Linked DNA regions of Homo sapiens: region 1 is linked to region 2. The links are contacts of gene promoters, found by promoter capture Hi-C in human tissues and cell types (Jung and others, 2019). All regions are on one chromosome and are shown on one strand. Each heading gives the region's core, a stretch centred on a gene start or on the middle of the fragment in contact. The rest is flanking DNA. Distances are from core to core; before and after follow the strand shown.

Region 1 (5,242 bases), core at 984-3,483, 530 kb before region 2:
TACTGCCAACCTTAGACGTTGCTGTGGGTCTCAAGAACGATCTGTGAAAAAACAGTTTTGGGGTATGACTATTGATGGGCATATGAGCCATGTCAACAAGTGGGACACCTCTCAGAAAAAGACCAAATACACCTTTATCACCCAGGAAGAGTGGCCAGAGGTTCAGAACAATGTCTTCAGCTCTCTTCCTCAAAAAATGGCAGGGATTCCTGAGAAAATGCCCTGCTGCCCTTTGCAGTGGTTTCAACGTGTGCACATACTGATAGGAAATGAGAAGGGGCCAGATGCTGTCCACTTTGTGGATCCAATTGGTCACATCACTGCTCACTCCCTGGGGAGGTGGGGCAGTTCAGGGCTGGTCTCTGAGGCAGAGCTGGGGCCTCCATTCTGTCTAGCAGGAGCTGTAGGGGATGGGGTGAAAAAGTGGGAACAGAGAAGGAGCACAGGGAAGGCCTCTAGAAGTTCTCTATGGCTGTGGGCGATGCCCACAGAAGTTGGTGGTACTTTATTTTACCCAACAAAAACAGTCCTAATAACAGGCCCGTGAATCTCACCATTCCTAATTACAGGGCTGACAAGTGGGAGGGAAAATGAAAGGAAGACAGCGCCGTGAGCTGGTGGCACTGTCGGGCTCCTACAACAGCAGAAACCTGTCGCCTGGGCTTGCCCAGGCCAGCTTTACACAGGCCCCCGATCACGCCTGGAACCCATAGCCTCGAAATAAGTGTAGGGCTGGCTAGGCCAGCACAAGCCCTTGCTCATTAGTTCAGGTCTGCAGGTTGGATCCCCATGTGGACCAGTTAGCTTTGCCCGTTGTCAGCGACCCAGAGCTTAACCAGCTGTTTTGGCAGCCAGCAGGGATGGGAGACAGGCAGAAGAGGGTGGACTCACTGGTGAAAATTCAGTGCCCCTTGTCCCATGGCCTATTGGTGACTGTATTGTGGGCCAGAGATTTTTATCAATAAAGGGTGCATTTGGGTTAGAAATGAGCATATCGGCCAGGCGCAGTGGCTCACGCCTGTAATCCCAGTACTTTGGGAGACTGAGGCGGGTGATCACCTGAGGTCGGGAGTTCACGACCAGTCTGGCCAACATGGTGAAACCCCATCTCTACTAAAAATACAAAAAAAATTAGCCAGGTGTGGTGGTGTGCGCCTGTAATCCCAGCTACTCAGGAGGCTGAGGCAGGGGATTTGCTTGACCCCAGGAGGTGGAGGTTTCAGTGAGCCAAGATCGCACCACTGTGCTCCAGCCTGGGCATCAGAGCGAGACTCCATCTCAAAAAAAAAAAAAGAAAGAAAAAAAAGAAAAAGAAAGAAAAGAAATGAGCATATCTTCCTGAAAACTCAGATAGGATTCAATTTCTTTTCTTGATTCGACATGTAAATTGTTGGTCAATCTTCAGAAAGTCAGGTGTGATGGTGGTGGTAGTAGTGATGTGAGGAAGTGAAACTTAGGCCTCTCTGGGCTTTGCCACATACCATAACCTGCCTGGACCTAAGCTCTCAGTTCCCTTTCTCTTTCACACCTCAACTATATAAACACTGACATCTATAATGCATATTAGTTTTTTAATCATGGGATTTCTTTTCACTCCCTTCAATACCTACATTGAATTTTCTGAAACAATAATTTTAAAAAATAAATAAAATTGAAGTGAATCCTTTAAGTTGCAACAAAATAATAAAGGCTGACACTTCTGGAACATTCCCTATGTTTCAGGCACTGTTCTAAGTGCTTTTTGTGTATTCATTAATTTAACCTCCCCAACATACCTACAAAGTATGTAATATTACTAACCCCATTTTCCAGATGAGGAAACTGAGGTACAAAGAGGTTAAGTAACTGGCCTAAGATTATGCAGTTAGTAAGTGGCTGAGCTGGCCCTAGAGGGTGTACCCTTGGTCAAAACATTCTACTACAAAATCGTTCCCTCAGTTGAGAGCCAAGGATAGAGAATAATGTTAACTGAGCTCCTCTTTCTTGGATTTGTCTATTCATTCATTCAATCATGACTTCATTCAACAAATATTTATGTAGTGCCTGGCACATGGCAGGTTCTGGACACTGGAGATGTATGATGACTAAGGCAGACAAAGGTCACTCCTTCCTGAAGATGGCACTCTAGACAATCAACAGGTAAACTGGTAAATAAACAAGACAATTTCAGGTCATGATTTCCGCTGTGAAGAAAATAAAGCAGTATAATGAGCCAGAGTGTCTCGAGGAGAGGGGCCCATTAAGTGGGCAAGTAGGGAAGGCTGCATTGATGGCATGGTGCTTGAGCTGAGGTCAGAACGGTGAGAAGCCAGCTGGGCCATGGCCAGGGCAGAGCATATGTGGAGGGGAAAGAGTAAACTCCAAGACCCCAAGGTGGAAAGTGAACTTGTCATGTTCAGAAATCAGGATGGGGGTTAGCATGACTAGCTAGACTGTGGTGAATGGGCTGCCGTATCACCAACGCCTGGTGGGCCACGGTAAGGAGTTGGGTCTTTATGAACTTGGAAGTCTCTCGGTTCTTTTCCTAGGTCCACATACACCCATGGTCTGAGGATAGCATTGAGAGTCCACAAAACTAGAAAGGAAGAATTGGCCGGGCACAGTGGCTTACACCTGTAATCCCAGCACTTTGGGAGGCCAAGGCAGGCTGATCACTTGAGGTCAGAAGTTCGAGACCAGCCTCGCCAACATGGCAAAACCCCATCTCTACTAAAAATACAGAAATTAGCTGGGTGTGGTGGTGCGTGCCTGTAGTCCCAGGTACTCAGGAGGCTGAGGCAGGAGAACTGCTTGAACCTGAGAGGCGGAGGTTGCAGTGAACCACATCACATCACTGCCCTCCAGCCTAGGTGACAAAGTGAGACTCTGTCTCAAAAAAAAAAAAAAAAAAAAAAAAGAAAGAAAGAAAGAAAGGAAAAATTAACATCTATATATTTTTCTAAGTTCAAACAGAAATGTAATATTTCCTTCAATTATGAATGTGGTCAACAAAGCTTCATGGTATTAACCACACCTGTGACTTTGTCACCAATGGTATTAATTTAGTGTTGCTGTTAGACACACTTCCAGCTCTTGTTATGTAAAGAGGCACAGATACCACTATAGCACAAAAAGTGTACACATATTTTGATAACTGAATTTCTATGTAGTCATTTTAAAATATTTTAAAATAAGAGGTTAACAGGTATCAGCAGACTGTTAAAGAGGTCCATGGCATAAAAAAATATTAAGAAGGCAGGCCAGGCATGGTGGCTCATGCCTGTAATCCTAGCACTTTGGGAGGCCGAGGCAGGCGGATCACCTGAGATCAGGAGTGTGAGAGACCAGCCTGGCCAACGTGGTGAAACCGTGTTTCTACTAAACATACAAAAATTAGCCGGGCATGGTGGTGCACAACTGTAATCCCAGCTACTCGGGAGGCTGAGGCAGGAGAATGGCTGGAACCTGGGAGGTGGAGCTGCAGTGAGCCGAGATCGCACCACTGCACTCCAGCCTGGGAGACAGAGCAAGACTCCGTCTTAAAAAAAAAAAAAAAAAGCTAGAAGGCGACACGGAGAAAAATGGCATCGTCTGCTTTAGCTTTCCCAAAGACCCCTCTGGCTGCAACGGGAAGAGGGGATTGTAAGAAGCAGGACCTCACATGAGCTCTGTTTACACAGGGAGTTGAATTTAACCCTCACCACAATCTTAAGAAGTATACATTATTTTGCCTATTTTAGAGATGAGGAAACTGAAGCTCAGATTTCTGGTAATTGCTCAGCTGGTGAATGGCAGAGTCGGGATTCAAACATGCATCTGCCTGACCCCAAAAAGCAAGAGGATTGAGGATTCGTGGGCCAGTGAATAGAAGCCTGTAACAAGAGGGTCAAGGGTAAATAGTATCTGCTTGGCCTCTTGAGTCAGCTTGGACCTCTGTGCCGCATAATTTCACCTGCAAATGAACTGCCAGCCCCTTCTTTCCTTAGCGCTGGTTCGTTCCTAAAATCTGCCCTCTATAGGCCAATAACACAGCCCTGTGCCGAGCCAACTAAATATTTCATGGGGACTTTAATTTAACTCTAAAGAAATTCATCCAGCCCCGAGAGTAAGCTGTAACCTCGAGAAATAGCACCAGGGAGCACTTGGACCTGCGGATGACATTGCCACTTTCCCAGGAATGCTAATGCTCCACTGGGCCTCTGCCTCTTCAATCATTGCTGTGGATAGGCCTGGCCCAGTGAGCAGGGATGATTTCTACAAACATGGGCTCGCACTGGTTAGCAAAGACGTGTGTGTGTGTGTGTGTGTGTGTGTGTGCGCGCGTGCACGCGTGTATGTGTGTGTGCGCACATGTGTGTGTGTGTGTGTGTCTGTGTGTTGGCACAGGTGAACAATTGGGTGCTATTTACTGTTCCTTTATTCCCTGATCTTTGTTCCTATATCCTGGTTCTGAAAGAAGGGAGAGGTGGTGGGGTTGGCATCCAGTCTCCCCAGTGGACAAGGACACCAAATATTTTGCAGGTGCCATGTGACCCCTAAGAGTTTCTCTTTGTCTCCAGCCCGCGGCGGGTGGCGTGGGCAGACAGCCTGACTCATGTGGCAGGAGAGCAGATGTGTGTGTTCTCAGGCATGTGACGCTGAAGTCTAAGGGATGAGCCCTGCGGATGCTCGTGTGGGCCAGGAGTGGGAGTGAGCCTCCCTGGCTCCTTCTGATCCCATTGCCCTGCAGCTCGGTGACCCCAGTGAGTCCTGGCAAGTTCCCTGGGCATCTCAATAGGTGCGGGTGGGAGGGAGAAAGCCGCCCGCAGGTAAACTGATCAAAAGACAGGAAGTGAGCAGATAATCTAATTTGAAATGGGCTGAGATACAGATGTTATTCTGCTCAAATGCACAGCACAAAAGGACTGGGGCCTGGGGAGAATTGGGAAGCAGCTCCGTGGAGCCAGTCTTCTGGCCTCTGGCTCAGCCTGGGCCTGTCATCTCCATTCCTTCCCGGGCTGTAATTAACACCCCTCCGCTGATAGCTGCTTTAAGCCAGATTGGAGCATGGGGCCCTTCCTCTTCTGGTTGGGCGTCCCACATGACACCGTCCAAGGTGTTAGAGGGAACCGGGTCTGGGGCAGGGCAAGGGGAGAAGGGCGCCCTCTAGTGGGGAACCTACGGCTTCAAGTCCTTAGGTTGGAGGATGTCTGATCGCATCCACAGCATGACCTGAATCTGGTTCTAATGTTCCAGCCTCCTGACAAAAATCCCTCCTGCATAC
Region 2 (4,861 bases), core at 444-2,943:
GAAGGCACCCCAATAATACCACACTGGGGAAAGTGTGGTATTTTGATACCTGTATACAATGTATAATGAACAAAGCAGGGTGGTTAACATAGAGAATGCATGATTTGCTTGGTGGGGAGAACTGGATGGTTCTGTAATTATGTTGAGATGGACAGAAAGACATCATCTGACTTGGGGAGAAAATCGGGTGTGGGAGGAGGTGGGAGAGTGCAGAACCTGAGGCAGAGGTCCCCAGCAAGTCTGGCATGGGGTAGGGTAGGGTGGTTGAATACTGGCTTCAGGGAGATGAGGCAAGCTGGCCTGACTCTGGCAGGTTGTCAGTGGTAGTCCTAGGTAGAGGAGGGGGCTTTGCTAAGCTACCTGAAAAGTACTAGAGTGGGCCGGGGTAGGAATCGGGCTACCGTGGCTTGTCGGAGATGAGGAATGTTTTTAGAAAATTGAACTGACCATCCCTTCCTTCCCCTGAACAGCAGCTTGTATGCAACTATAAAGGTAGTCTCCCTTTCAGCCCTGCTTGCTGTGTCTTTATTCTTATCAAAAACCAGGATCTGAGTTCAGAGGGCAGTGAAACATAAAATGAAATAGGAAAGGTTGCAGTAGTACATAGACTTTGGCTGCTCCCACTAACCTGCAAAAAAAATATTTTCCTTGGGCGTACCTTAGCAGTTCCATGGCAGAAGTTTTATCTCCTGTGGTTCAGAGAGTTTGGCTCGTCAAGCTGAATGTAGGGTTAAAGTGTGTCCTCCCTCCTCTGTGGGTGTTTGCCTAGCTCCTGGCTGTGGGTTGAAGGGACTGGTAAATATGTCTATTTTACTGCTGAGGCAGGGTGGCTCAGTGCTTGGTCACCTTGGAGGGATCATAAGCAAGCCGCCGCTGGGGCCCTGTGCCACGCACAGGTATTCATGCGTGCGTGCAAGCACACCCTGTATAGCTGTGTAATAATTGTCCAGGTGTGGTGCATTCTTTGTCAGATGTACCCTTGTTTTTACTGCCTCTGTGCAGGATGTTTATTTGCTGTGCTTCAGGCTGGGGCACGTAGCTTGATCAAGGGTAGTTTTTGCTGTGGCCCCTGCAAATACGTTGTGGTGCCCAGAGTAGATGAAAAACTGTGAGTTTCCCAATAGAGCGGGTTCATCTGGACTCTTGTTGGTTGCGTTCTAGGAGCTAATTCTGTGGCTCTGGACTCTTCCCTGGAGGTGGGGATGAGGCCGGGGCCGGGGGGAGGTGGTCTTGTGGCGCTACTGCGGGCTGTGCACTCAGGAAAGTGGCCACGGTTTAGGACGACCTCGACACGACCCTGTATAGGACGCAACTAACTCCAGAGAAAACGAGCGAGCCCCATGCAACTCTTCATTCCTGCAGGGAGAACAAGGAGGTGTGCCCGCCAGGGAAGGGACGCACCCCCACCGGCGCTCGCTGCCTTAACTTCCCCATCCCCGCGCCAGGGAGGGGCCGGAGTCGCCGCCGAGGCCGCCGAGCGCAGAAAGTGCGCGAAAGGGACGCGCTGCGAGCCTCACACGTGACGGCGCCGCGCCGAACCGAGCGGGACCTGGCGGCAGCGGCGGCGGGCGCAGCGGGGCGGCCCGGAGCGGCGCGGGCGGCCTGGAGCCCCGGGAGCGGCGCGCGCGGTCCCGGCCCAGCGGCTCTCCTGGCCTCGCGCTGCACATTCTCTCCTGGCGGCGGCGCCACCTGCAGTAGCGTTCGCCCGAACATGGCGACACGGAGCAGCAGGAGGGAGTCGCGACTCCCGTTCCTATTCACCCTGGTCGCACTGCTGCCGCCCGGAGCTCTCTGCGAAGTCTGGACGCAGAGGCTGCACGGCGGCAGCGCGCCCTTGCCCCAGGACCGGGGCTTCCTCGTGGTGCAGGGCGACCCGCGCGAGCTGCGGCTGTGGGCGCGCGGGGATGCCAGGGGGGCGAGCCGCGCGGACGAGAAGCCGCTCCGGAGGAAACGGAGCGCTGCCCTGCAGCCCGAGCCCATCAAGGTGTACGGACAGGTGAGCAGTTTTGCAACCCGCCTCCCTCCAGTTTTTTCCTCTCCCTGCACTTCCTCACCCCCGCATCCATCCGTTGCAGTCGCCTCCTAGGTGCAGGCACCACTGGGGACTTCCCGGCTTGCATTTGTTTTTTTCCTTCACGAGTACAACCGTCAGCACTTGAATCGCATTGATCTTTCCTTCTTCCTGTCGATTTAGTAAACGTATTCCAGGTAACTCGCCGGGTGCAGTGCGTATTACCCCAGGGTGTGTGCAGAGAGATGTAGTTTCCGGCAGGTATAGGAGGGGTGCAGCTTCATTTTACATCTGGATAAAAAACGGGCTTTCTTTAGTGTATCATCAGTTGGCAGTGGAGGCGAGCACCCTGCAGTTGCGGTACACTTACACAGAACAGCACGAGGTGGGGGTTTCCACACTTAGCATTATTAGCACAATAAAAGTGGGCAAACCTGAAAGCTTGTCGACTATCTCTGTACAGTCAGACAAGAGGTGTGTGTATGTGTGTGCGTGTGTAAAGGCTGAATTTTTAATTTTTAATTTTTGGCGAGCGTGTGAGATGCTCTCCATTCCTTCTTCCCCACCCTTCAAGATGCTGACTCTCCCACCCCCGTCAAGATAACTTTATTTTGGAGAGGAATACCCCTCATGGCACTTGGAGATTTGAAAGGACTGCAGGAAATTTGGTGGGCATTATTATTCTATAAGTGATTTATTTCTACCCAGGCAATAGGTTTATTAGATCATAAGTAACGTGAATTTCACTTTTATGGTCAGACTTACTGCGAGGAATTGCAGATGGAGTTTGTAGGTTAGGATCAGCACTGGCAAAATTAATTTGACCGTGTTATTGCCTCATGAGACTCCCAGTCCTGCAGTTAAGATTGACATCAGCAAAAGTATAAGGTCGGTGGGGGAGAAAAAGTAGGACCAGAGGAGGGGGTAAATACACTTGTTTTCTAGAGTCAAATTGTTCCTTTTGAAGTAGAAATTATTAATAAAAGATTACCCTGAGTTCTGCCTTTTCTCACTAATTTCACTTTAGCCATTTCTTCAGGAAATACAGAGTTAAATGTTCAACCCTTGGATCCAGGACGAACCTTGTAAACATATCACCCTATTGTGTCATTTTGTTGGTGAAGAAACTGAAGCGTGGAATGGTGAAGTGACTAGTCCAAGGTCATACCGGGAAGGTGGCCTGCTCTCTAGTTTTTGTCTGCATTGTCTCAGTGACCTTTGCTTGACTGCAGTCACCCTGTCTTTATGCAATGCTGCTGAAATACCTCCTTTCTAAAATAAAATAGATCTGGTATAAAGGGGGAAAGGATGGTGGTGACTGGGTGGGAGCGTTGGATTTCCCTCCACTATTGGTCCCTGGGCAAGAATGTGTGCCCCAGGGCATGTAACTAATGGTGGCCACAGGCTGCAGGAACCTGCATGCTCAGTTCCTCTTGGGCCCAGATCCTTGTCCCCCTGTCCCCACCCCATATGACAAATATGTGTATGAACAAAAAGAAGTCATCAAGGTCCTTGCTCTTAACAGCGACACCAGCATGGGGCTGATGGAGGGTGGGAGAAGGAGGAGGAGTGGCCCACTTCTTCATTGGGCCTCCGCAGTCAGCCCAGCTCTGCTGTGCTCTTGAATCAGCATTCTGGGAACTGGGAGTTGGGGGCTGGTGGGAGACAATCCCTCCCAGTGCTCAGGTCCCCTGAAGCTATAGTTTAGGTTGAGGAAAAAGTTTTCTGGTTTCAAAAATATGTGTACATGTGCCATTTCTTTCTTGGGTTTGGTTTATGAAAAGCTCCAGGGGATGTGGGGCAGGTTGGACATGAACTCTGTTCTCACTGGGAGTGACTCCCAAACCCTGGGCTTTTGAGTTTCTGGGCCAGCCAGATTGAGTTTGGTTCAGCTGAAGGATGGAGAACTAGCAGTCAAACTCATAATGAGGAATTCCTAACCGGAGGGTGAGGGTACAAGGGTGAGATTTTTCTTCTCTGTGGCTGCCTTCCTATGCCATTGTTGCCTCTTGCTCTGAGGTTAATAAGAAGTGGAATTAATTTGAATCTGTAAGGATTTGAGTCAGATAAAAGGAAGAACTTCCCTGTACTGGGCTTTCTGCCACAAGTTCTATCTGGTGCAGACCCTTCAGAATGCAAGCACAGGTTGGTGACTGAAGGGGTTTGAGGTGCCCCTCTTGGAACTCTGGAGTAACTAACATCTATTTGGAATGATCTTTCTAGCAAGGATGACCATTGCCTCTGTGTTTCCCTGGGGCAGACCTGGTTTCTAAGTTGTCTCTGGTGGTTATGAATAGCACCCCCTTCACTCTCAAAAGTGTCAAGATGTGACAATAAATTATATGGTCCTACTTTTAGCCTTAAGCCAAGTTCCACTTTGTAATCACGACTTTCCCCTTCAACGTTTAAACCTAAGGAATGGTGATGTTTTCCAACAGTACTGCTTGACTTGAGTGTGGTTCTATGGAGGTGCAGTGAGCTGGGGAATAAAATTTCATTCCTGCTTTTAGGAAATTTACAATTTAAGGAGGAGAGCAAGCAGATGCAGATACAGGCATGTCAATGTACCAGGATGGGAACCAGGAAACATGGTCACAAGAAACCAGCCACAACTCTACAATGGTGTGATAACGGGCTGTGTGACATGCAGCGCATGGGAGATGGAGAGATAAGGGGTGGTGGGCTCAGACACTGTCCAGCTTCTTGCCCTCTGACCTTTGAGTGAGGTTAAGAGGACACTGGCAGCACAGGTTAGGGCTGGAAGCAGAAGCTGCCTGAAGGAAGCAGGCCTAGAGGCGATGTTAAGGCCACCACCTTCAGGGAGAAGAGAAGGGAAGGCTTTCTAGGGGA

Evidence for each region. The method cuts DNA at HindIII sites, captures the fragments that hold promoters and counts their contacts. A contact is called where the count stands out against the background at its distance.
Region 1: a fragment that was not itself captured here is called in contact with the fragment with the promoter of SORL1 in region 2 in 1 of the 25 tissues and cell types used here (IMR-90 fibroblasts).

The regions. Positions count from the first base shown.
Region 1 is chr11:120,924,694-120,929,935 of GRCh38, forward strand. The region is part of intron 13 of GRIK4 (glutamate ionotropic receptor kainate type subunit 4); the gene reads left to right. Among named protein-coding and RNA genes, the nearest start is that of TBCEL, 97 kb to the right of the region's middle. RefSeq lists silencers at 1,437-1,536, 5,135-5,184. The HindIII fragment of the contact is 4,235 bases long and covers 117-4,351 here.
Region 2 is chr11:121,450,621-121,455,481 of GRCh38, forward strand. SORL1 (sortilin related receptor 1) reads left to right here and starts at 1,694. Exons shown (of 48, transcript NM_003105.6): 1 at 1,694-1,996. The coding sequence starts at 1,712. It overlaps SORL1-AS1 (SORL1 antisense RNA 1), which reads right to left and starts at 2,347. Exons shown (of 3, transcript NR_183636.1): 1 at 2,055-2,347. RefSeq lists enhancers at 651-710, 2,101-2,290, 2,301-2,350, 2,391-2,460, 2,481-2,530 and silencers at 1,581-1,630, 1,761-1,810, 3,655-3,704. The HindIII fragment of the contact is 11,875 bases long and covers 1-4,861 here.